Regions from separate parts of the Homo sapiens genome. Here region 1 is linked to region 2. Evidence: promoter capture Hi-C in 16 types of primary human blood cells and fetal thymus (Javierre and others, 2016). All regions are on one chromosome and are shown on one strand. Each heading gives the region's core, a stretch centred on a gene start or on the middle of the fragment in contact. The rest is flanking DNA. Distances are from core to core; before and after follow the strand shown. Region 1 has its middle 87 kb from the start of MIR4762. Region 2 holds the start of LINC01589 (long intergenic non-protein coding RNA 1589).

What was found. Contacts are between HindIII fragments. The CHiCAGO score rates a contact against its expected background, and 5 or more counts as called.
Region 1: a fragment that was not itself captured here is called in contact with the fragment with the promoter of LINC01589 in region 2 in 1 of 17 cell types (endothelial precursors); the score reaches 5.1 in endothelial precursors.

The regions. Positions count from the first base shown.
Region 1 is chr22:45,845,464-45,850,401 of GRCh38, reverse strand. No RefSeq gene overlaps it. Among named protein-coding and RNA genes, the nearest start is that of MIR4762, 87 kb to the right of the region's middle. RefSeq lists an enhancer at 3,982-4,938. The HindIII fragment of the contact is 1,497 bases long and covers 1,532-3,028 here.
Region 2 is chr22:45,604,289-45,608,853 of GRCh38, reverse strand. It overlaps LINC01589 (long intergenic non-protein coding RNA 1589), which reads left to right and starts at 3,207. Exons shown (of 2, transcript NR_131244.1): 1 at 3,207-3,453; 2 at 4,096-4,422. The HindIII fragment of the contact is 5,695 bases long and covers 1-4,565 here.

The DNA.
Region 1 (4,938 bases), core at 1,031-3,530, 240 kb before region 2:
GGACAGCATCCCACCACCTTGGCTCCCAGGACTCTCATAAGCACTCTTTGGCCTCTTAGCCACTCTGCCTCCTCCTCTGAAGTGAAAAATACTTTCAGAGGAAACAGCAACCCAAATACACTTATCTTCCTGGGCCTCTTTTCACTCCCAGACCCTGGCCCTGTAATTCCTTGCTGTGTCTTGCTAGCTCCCAGGTACCTTTAAACAGTAGCTGAAACTATTCTGACCTGTGTTTCAGTTGCCTTCAGAGGGGTTTGGTCAGAACTACCTAGTTGGGAAGTGCCTTTTCTTTTCTAATATGATTACTTCTCTGAGACAAATCTTCTCTAACCCCTTATCTTCCTTCCTTGACCTCCCACAGTATGCAACCTAAAACAAAGATAAGGCTTTAAGCCCTAAGATGTTGACTGCAGCATTTCTAATGATAAGAAGCAGAAAATAAAATGTCTAACAAGAAGGGAATGGTAGCCGGGTGCACTGGCTCACACCTGTAGACCCAGCTACTCAGGAGGCTGAAGTGGGAGGATCAATTGAGCCCAGGAGTTCAAGGCTGCAGGGAACCATGGTTGTGGCATTGAATTTCAGCCTGTGTGATAGAGCAAGACCCCCTCCCCACCAATACATAAATATATTTAAAAAAGAAGGGAATGCTCAAGTCCATTATGGTACATTTTTGTGATAAAGCCATTACAATTTTTTTGAGGGGTCTCTAGCATACTGAGGAGCCTCATGCTCTAATGTTGAGAGCAAGTTTAGACTGTGGGCCACACGTTGACAGCAGGCCTGCTTCACTAGTCTTTCTACAACCTCACCCTAGATAATCTCATTGATTTCCATGGCTTCATATCATCTATACATAAAACCAATCATTCCAAATATCTATTTCCAATACTGATCTGTCTTCTGAGCCCTAGTTTATAGGTCCAATTACTTTTTAAAATCATCACCACTTGGATGTCTCAAAAGCATCTCAAACTTCATTTGCCCAAAATAGAATTCTGGATTCTCTTTGCCACAAATAAAACATACACAAGAACCAATCTTCACATTCAACTTTTCCACCCCAGTGAATGGACAATCATCCACCCAGCTGTTCGACAGATCTCAGGAGCTACTCTTGTGGACTTCATGCACTCCACCCTCAGCTTGTCCTACGGATCCTCCCTCAGACACACAGTTCCAACTCAAGTCTCTCTCTCCATTTCCACTGCCACCATGCTTGTCTAGATCACTGTCATCAACAGCCCCATACGCAATTTCTCTACTTTCATTCTTTCTCCTCTCCATTTTCCACACTGCAGCAAGAGTAGTCATTTAAAAGTGCAAGCAGAATCTTGGCATTCCTCTGCTAAAAATGGCTCAATAGCTTCCCAGTGTACTTCAAGCAAAATTCAAATTCCTCCCATGGCCTTGAAGACCCTGCATGATCTGATTCCTGCTGACCCCTCTGACTTGGTCTTATGATGTTCTCCCCTGGCCACCAGGCACTGGGCCCACTGGCCACCCACCTGGTCCCTGAACAGGTGAAGCTTTTCCAATTTTGGGGCCTCTGCACTTGCTGCTCCCTCTTCCAGAACACTTCTCTCTGATTCTTTGCACAGCTGGCACCTTTTCAACCTTCTTCTGGCTTTTACTCAAAAAGAACACCCCAGTTACCATCAACTTGCCTATTTTCTTCATGGCACTTACTACAATATGCAATGCTCTCGTTTTACATATTTGTTCACTTATTAATAACTTTCTGTCACCCTCACCAGAAGATAATCCTTATGAGAGCAGAGGCCATGTCTGTCTTGTTCACTGTTGTATCCCTAGTGCATGGTACAGTCCTCGAGGGGGAAACGTAGGCTCAGAGTGGTTAAGTAACTTGCTCAAGGCCACACAGCTGGCAAGTGAAGTTGAGATTTGAACTTGAGTTTTTCTAATTGCAAGCGTATGTTCTTCCCATAGCACTCTCCTTGCTCTACATCTGATATGGTTTGGATTTGTGTCCCTGCCCAATTTTCATGTTCAACTGTAATCCCCAATGTCCTGATAGGAGGTGACTGGATCATGTGGGTGGATTTCACCCTTGCTGTTATCATGATAGTGAGTTCTCACAACATCTGGTTAAAAGTGTGTAGCACTTCTCCACCACCCTCACTCTCTTCCTCCTGCTCCAGCCATGTAAGACGTGCCTGCTTCCCCTTCTGCCATGATCCTAAGTTTCCTGAGGCCTCCCCAGCCATACTTCCTGTATAGCCTGCAGAGCCGTGAGCCAATTAAACCTCTTTTCTTTATAAATTACCCAGTCTCAGGGAGTTCTGTATAGCAATGCGAGAATGCACTAACACAACGTCCAAAGCCATAGTCCAGGCATTTCTGCTATATTAATTTTCCACGATTCTGGGAAAAGAAGCTATCTATTTTTTTCTCACTCATTCTCTTCCAATTAACTATAGCAATTAATCACTAAGCATTAACTGCTGTGTGTCCTTGGGCATAACTTCTCTGTGACTCAACTTCCTCATTCATATAATGGGATTAATACCAGGACTAAGCACTTCACACACAACCACTTGCTTGTGCTCTCATGTGCTCTCATCAGGCAGGTGGTATTATGAGCCGCATTTTCAGTGGGGCTGACAATGAGAAAATGGGGACACCCAGAACTTATAGAACCTGCCCATGGGTTAAGCAGGAGAAAGAGCAGGGACTGAAACCCAGGAATTCTAGCTTCAGAGCTGATATTCTTGGCCAATACACTTTACAAAGTGGTGGAAAAATTAAATCCGTATGATAAAAATTGCCTAAGCCCTTGCTTCAATGATGTGAAATAAGCATAGAAATTTGTGAGTAAATGAATAATGTATATGACGTTGTTTAAACAAAAAGAAACATTTAATATAATGTTTCTAATTTAAGCAAGAATAAATAATTATGGAAAACTGTGAAAATTAATTTCCACTGACAGGAATGTCTCTGGTTGAGATGAGGAAAGTCTGATGGATGAGTTAATACCATAACCACTATGTTTACAGCAAAAGCTTACAAATTCATTTATATTGTGGATGGTATATGAAATTCATATTGCAAAGTATCACATAATATTTGACCTCAAAATATAAATAAATATATAAAGTGTGTAGGAAAGAGGAAACAGATATTGTGTCATACAAACACAAGAAAAAAAATCTGAAGTTTGAAAACAAGGTTTTTAATTGATTTTATGTGGACAAGCCAATATGGCTGAAACGATCAGAACCTTGGACAGCACCGAGAGGGTGTTTTTTTGTTGTTGTTTTTTTGGTTCCCCCCCACCCCACAGGCTTGGTTTTATATTAGATCTTAAATGTTAAGGTTCTTCCTCAACTTTTCTGCATTTAAAAATTCCGCCTCAATTCTACTGCTTCACATGTGAAGCACTTATGTGTAGAACTTACTGATGATGAAAGATTTTTTAAAAAGTTTTCTTCCTGCAAAGACTGGAATTTTTGTTCTAACATCTTTGTTTATTCATTCAAGGACAGAAACTAAAGGACAGTAAAAAAATCATTTTAAGACCAGGCGCAGTGGCTCATGCTTGTAATCCCAGCATTTTGGGAGGCCAAGGAGGGCGGATCATGAGGTTAGGAGTTTGAGACCAGCCTGGCAACATGGTGAAACCCCATCTGTACTAAAAATACAAAAATTATAATCCCAGCTACTCAGGAGGCTGAGGCAGGAGAACTGCTTGAACCTGGGAAGCAGAGGTTGCAGTGAACTGAGATTGTGCCACTGCACTCCAGCTTGGGTGACAGAGCAAGACTCCATCTCGAAAAAAAAAAATCATTTAAATAACACTTAAATGCCATGTGTTATCAGGGCAGCACATGAATGACTTCAAGAGAGAATGGATGTAAGATGCACACAAAAAAATTTGATTTAAAGACGTATTAATTGGTAGCCCAAATCATCTCAATCATTTTTTCTATATCCTATTTTGCAAATGACATGTTTTAGCAGTTTCCAAAGCCCTATGCTTAGATTGTGAAGTTACTGAACAACAACAAAAAAATGCATCTCAATGTTAGCTCCTAAAAACAAAAACAAGAACAGAACCACAAAATCAGGACGTTGTATTAGTGCGTTCTCATATTGCTACACAGAACTCCTTGAGACTAGATAATTTATAAAGAAAAGAGGTTTAATTGGCTCATGGCTCTGCAGGCTATACAGGAAGGATGGCTCGGGAGGCCTCAGGAAACTTAGGATCATGGCAGAAGAGGAAGCAGGCATGTCTTACACGGCTGGGGCAGGAGGACAATGAACAAATATTAACAAATCCTAACAGTTTAGTAAGTTGGCCCTTGAAATCTGTGGAGTATTGGTTTCAGGAACCCCCGCTTGGATGCCAAAATCTATGGATGCTCAAGTCTCTGATATGAGCCTTCACAGTATTTGCATATAAACTACCCGCATTCTCCCACATACTTTAAATCATCTCCAGATTACTTGTAACACCTAATAAAATGTAAATGCTATGGAAATAGTTGTTACCTTGTATTTTAAAATTTGTATTATTTTTTGTTGTTGTACTACTATTTTATTTTTCCTGAGTATTTTCAATCCCCAGTTGGTTCAATCTGTGGATACAGAGAGCCGACTGTTTTAAGATTGCAAAAATAAGTATTTTTGAAATCTTCACATCCATTGTTAAGGTATTAAAAAATAATCACTCTGCAAATACTTGGACTCAGTATCAAGCTGAGAAGCCTTCCCCTCTATCTTTTAAAGTGAAGCCAGCTAAAAGCTTTGTCAGCTCGCTCTTGAAAGCAATAATATGGTCACAAAACTTGCTGTGACCATTCTGTCTCTTTACAAATTTTGTAAGGCTGGCCTGCTTTTTTCTTCCTTCTAAATGACTGATTGAGGTGATGATTAATCCTCTATAGCATGTAAAACAAGGTTCTCAGGAGC
Region 2 (4,565 bases), core at 1,958-4,457:
AAACACTAAGGTTCTCAACAGCAAGTCACCATCACCACAGGCCAGAGCGGATTCACCCGACCTCAGCGCCGTTAGCATTCGGTCCTGGGATGCCAAAGGCTTTCTCTGCTGGGATCTGAGTTTGGGGGTTGAGGTGCTCAAGTTTCCAGGGCGATGCTTCTGGAGGGGTTTTACCAGTTTCTAATACCGAAGGCTCAGGGGAAGCAGTTTCAACTGGGGGCCTCTCTAATCTAGGGAGACAATGGAGAAATAGTTTCTTGTGTGCAAAGCCACTCTTCACACTGGGACGGGCTCTGCTCCCTAGAGCAAGAATTAAACACCTGCTGTGTATGCACAGGAAAGGATGTTCAAGAGAGTGCTTTCTGGGGAATCTGGAGATTTCTTCTCAGATCTGTCTGACTTTTCCTGCAAGAAATGCAGAAAAGGCTGTTGCCTTTTAGGAATGATCAGGAGCACCGTCTACTCCACCGGCTGACTTGAATAACTCACCCTCAAAGGTGCAGGAACCAGGACAAGGTGACCAGGGTGTGGGACTCAGAGAGCTACAGTCTCACGTGACGATGAAACGTCAGGTTCAAAGTGGCTGGCTCATGTCGCTGTCATATTTGGCTCTGCTAACTGCGTAGATTTCCCCATGTAGGATGTTAGGACTTGACTGTTTCCCAAAGTGGCTGGCTCATGTCGCTGTCATATTTGGCTCTGCTAACTGCGTAGATTTCCCCATGTAGGATGTTAGGACTTGACTGTTTCCCAAAGTGGCTGGCTCATGTCGCTGTCATATTTGGCTCTGCTAACTGCGTAGATTTCCCCATGTAGGATGTTAGGACTTGACTTTCCCACCGAGGACCTTAGAAGGGGCGTTCAATGGCCATTTCTGCTGCGACATTTCAGTAGCTTCTGGGTCCCACCCTCCAGGCAACCTCTTCTTCCTCAGCCTGGTTCTGTGACCTTGTGCCCCCTGCCACTCCTCCATTCTTAGCTCCACATGGGGCACCCACATCTTCCCCCTCCCAGAGCCCCCTCCCCAACTTCCCACCCCTGTCTGTCCCGCTTTTTTTTTTTTTTTTTTTTTGAGACAGAGTCTCATTCTGTTGCCCAGGCTGGAGTGCAATGGCGCGATCTTGGCTCACTGCAAACTCCACCTCTCAGGTTCAAGCGATTCTCCTGCCTCAGCCTCCTGAGTAGCTGGGATCACAGGCACCCACCATCTCGCCTGGCTAATTTTTGTATTTTTTTTAGTAGAGATGGGGTTTCACCATGTTGGCCAGGTTGGTCTCCAACTCCTGACCTCAGGTGATCCGCCCGCCTCGGTTTCCCAAAGTGCTGGGATTACAGGCGTGAGCCACCACGCCCGGCCAGCTCTCTGCAGACACCATCTGGGCGTCCTACACTTCAGTTCAATTCTGACGCTGGCCACCCAGAGTTAGCACAGGCCCGAGAGGATATGGGCTCCGTCCTGCAAGACCGTCCCTACTTCAGATGTCAGTTGCAAAGATTGGGCGCTCAGGTTACCCACACTTCCGTCTGACTTGGCTACACATCAGGGGTCCCCAGAACGCCCTCCTCGGGTTTGGTAATTGGCTAAAATGGCTCACAGAACTCAGGGAAACACTTTGGTTACATGTATAGGTTTCTAAGACCTTATACAAACTGGGCCCATTAGTCTTTGCTCCCTGATACTATCTGATACCATCTGGTCTCATTCCTTCCTGAATGGAATAATTCCTTCCTCATTCATTATCACAAGGACAATAATGTCCTTGTAAAGGACATTATTGATGATACAGATGAACAGGAAGACGAAGAGGCACACAGGGCGAGCTCTGGTGGGGCCCGGGCACAGGAGCTTCTGTCCCCGTGGAGTTGGGGGGCGCCACCCTCCCAGCATGCGGATGTGTCCACCAGCCCAGAAGCTCTCTGGATCCTGTAGTTCAGGGATTTTTACGGAGGCTTCATTACTTACGCGTGATGGATTATTAGCTCAATCTCCAGCCCCTCTCCCTTTCCTGGAGGGTGGGGGTGGAGCCAAAAGCTCCAGGCTCCTCGTCGAATCTGGGTCTTTCTGGTGCTCAGCCCCCAACCCCACCCAGGAGCCACTGAGAGTCACCTCATTAAACCAAAGACAAGGGATTAGGAGCTTTGTGTCAGGAACCCGGAAAGAGACCAAATAGAAGTGAATGTTTCTTATTATGTCACACAGCCACACCACGAGGTTGGTGCAGGAGCCCTTGAAGGAAGCCCTTGGAGGATCTGAGACCAAGAGGGCCTGATCAGATCGGAGTTTTGGAAATGTAACCTGGCAGCCTAGGGGAGGACTGGACAGAGTGGGGAGGACAGAGGGGAACTGATTCACCAGAGGGAGGGCGTGAAGTGAGTGAATGAATGAGTGAACCAATGAATGAACAAGATGGGAAGGAAGGAGTGAGACCAGATGGTATCAGATAGTATCAGGGAGCAAAGACTAACGGGCCCAGTTTGTATGAGGTCTTAGAAACCAGATCAAGGAGGTGGGATCAACGGTGCTTTCCTCTAAAGAAGCACATTTCCGGCCGGGCGCGGTGGCTCACGCCTGTAGACCCAGCACTTTGGGAGGCCGAGGCGGGTGGATCACCTGAGGTCAGGAGTTCGAGACCAGCCTGGCCAACACGGTGAAAACCCATCTCTACTAAAAATACAAAAATTAGCTGGGCATGGTGGGGGGTGCCTGTAATCCACACTACACAGGAGGCTGAGGCAGAGAGAATGGTTTGAACCCCCGGGAGGCAGAGACTGCAGTGAGCTGAGATCACGCCACTGCACTCCAGCCTGGGCGACAGAGCGAGACCCTGTCTCAAAAAAAAAAAAAAAAAAAAGAAGCAGCAGCAGCAGCAAATTTCCAGGAAGAAGCAGGCTATGGAGATCAGGGCAGGCAAAGGACAGAATTAGGTTAGTGCATCAACTGGGTCCAACCAGGAAGACACATGTGTTTATCTCCTGCAGCACCAAAAACCACCCAGAAGACAGCTCAGTGGACCCTAGCAGTGGATTCTACATGTCTGCAGAAAATGAGCAGAAAACAAGCCAGAGTTACAGCTATCTGCAGAGAGACTACATCCAGGAGGTCTGAAGACTGAAAGTAATCACTGCAGTCTGACTTCTACCACTGACACCCTTCCCATACATAATTTAAATGTGTAATTATAATACCATTGCTTAGTTAACGGACACCAATTCGTGCAGGAGCTGCCACAAACAGTAATAAACCAGCTGTGTTAGAAATGGATCACTTATCAGTGCGTGCCCAAGCCTCCTAATGCCTCATGATGTTTAATAATTAAATTGTGACACCTTGAACCCGCAGCTGACACCATGAATCACAGTGGAATTCTCCAAATGGAATGCAGCCACACCTCAGCTTCTGTGCTGCGTGCTGCCACTGAGGACATTCGATACCATTGAAGCCGTCAGATAGAGGTGGGTTATTTCCCTGTGCCCTGCACCTCCCTTCTGGCAAGTCCCTGGGAAGCAGTGGCCACAGATGAGCTGCTGCTCTCTTAAAGACTGAGATCAGGCCGGGCGCGGTGGCTCATGCCTGTAATCCCAGCACTTTGGGAGGCTGAGGCAGGCAGATCACCTGAGGTTGGGAGTTCGAGACCAGCCTGGCCAACATGACGAAACCCTGTCTCTACTAAAAAATACAAAAAATATTAGCTGGGTGTGGTGGTACGCGCTTGTAATCCCAGCTACTTGGGAGGCTGAGGCACAAGAGTTTCTTGAACCCAGGAGGCAGAGGTTATATGGAGTCTCGCTCTGTCACCCAGGCTGGAGTGCAGTGGCTCAATCTCGGCTCACTGCAACCTCATTTCAGGAGATGAGACCGGCATCCTTGTGGGAGAAGATGGCCCTGAGCTGGGCATGGCAGAAGGGCTGCGGAGTGTGTGTGTGTGTGTGTGTGGTGTGTGTGTGTGTGCACACATGCGCACATGTGTGTGTGAGAGAATGTGTGTGTGTTGGAGATGATTACCGAAGCCTTCCTGGCACATAGTAGGTCTTTTTTCCCACAAAGAGTAATGTGATTATTGGTAGTAATGGTGACTGTCACCGTGCTTCTCACAGGCCGTATTTCAAAAGGTCTACGGTGGCTCCGTTTCTTCTCTGAGACTTCAAAAGTCCTTCAAGAGTGAGTTCCCGTCTCATTCTATGTCCAGGATGAAGACGGATGGCCTCTTGGCACCCATCTCTTTGGCATGAACGATGTGGGGAAACGTGAATGGAAATGGGGAACTGTTGCTGGCACCCAGAAGTCATCCGGTCCGGATGAAGCCAAGTCACAAGGAAGTGCCTCCAATTATTCTTCATAAATTCCTCTGAGGTTTCACTTCTTGTCCACACAAGACTTTAATAAAATGTGGCATCTAACTGAATAAAGACTATCCTTTCGGGTGTGTGTGTCATGACAGTACTATTTATGGAGGACCTCCTGTGTAGCAGTTCTTGCACTGTTTTACGTAATCATCCCCTTTCATCCTAACAATCACTCCTGTGAAGTATGTGTCCTTATTTTCATTTCGTTGTAGAGAAAACCA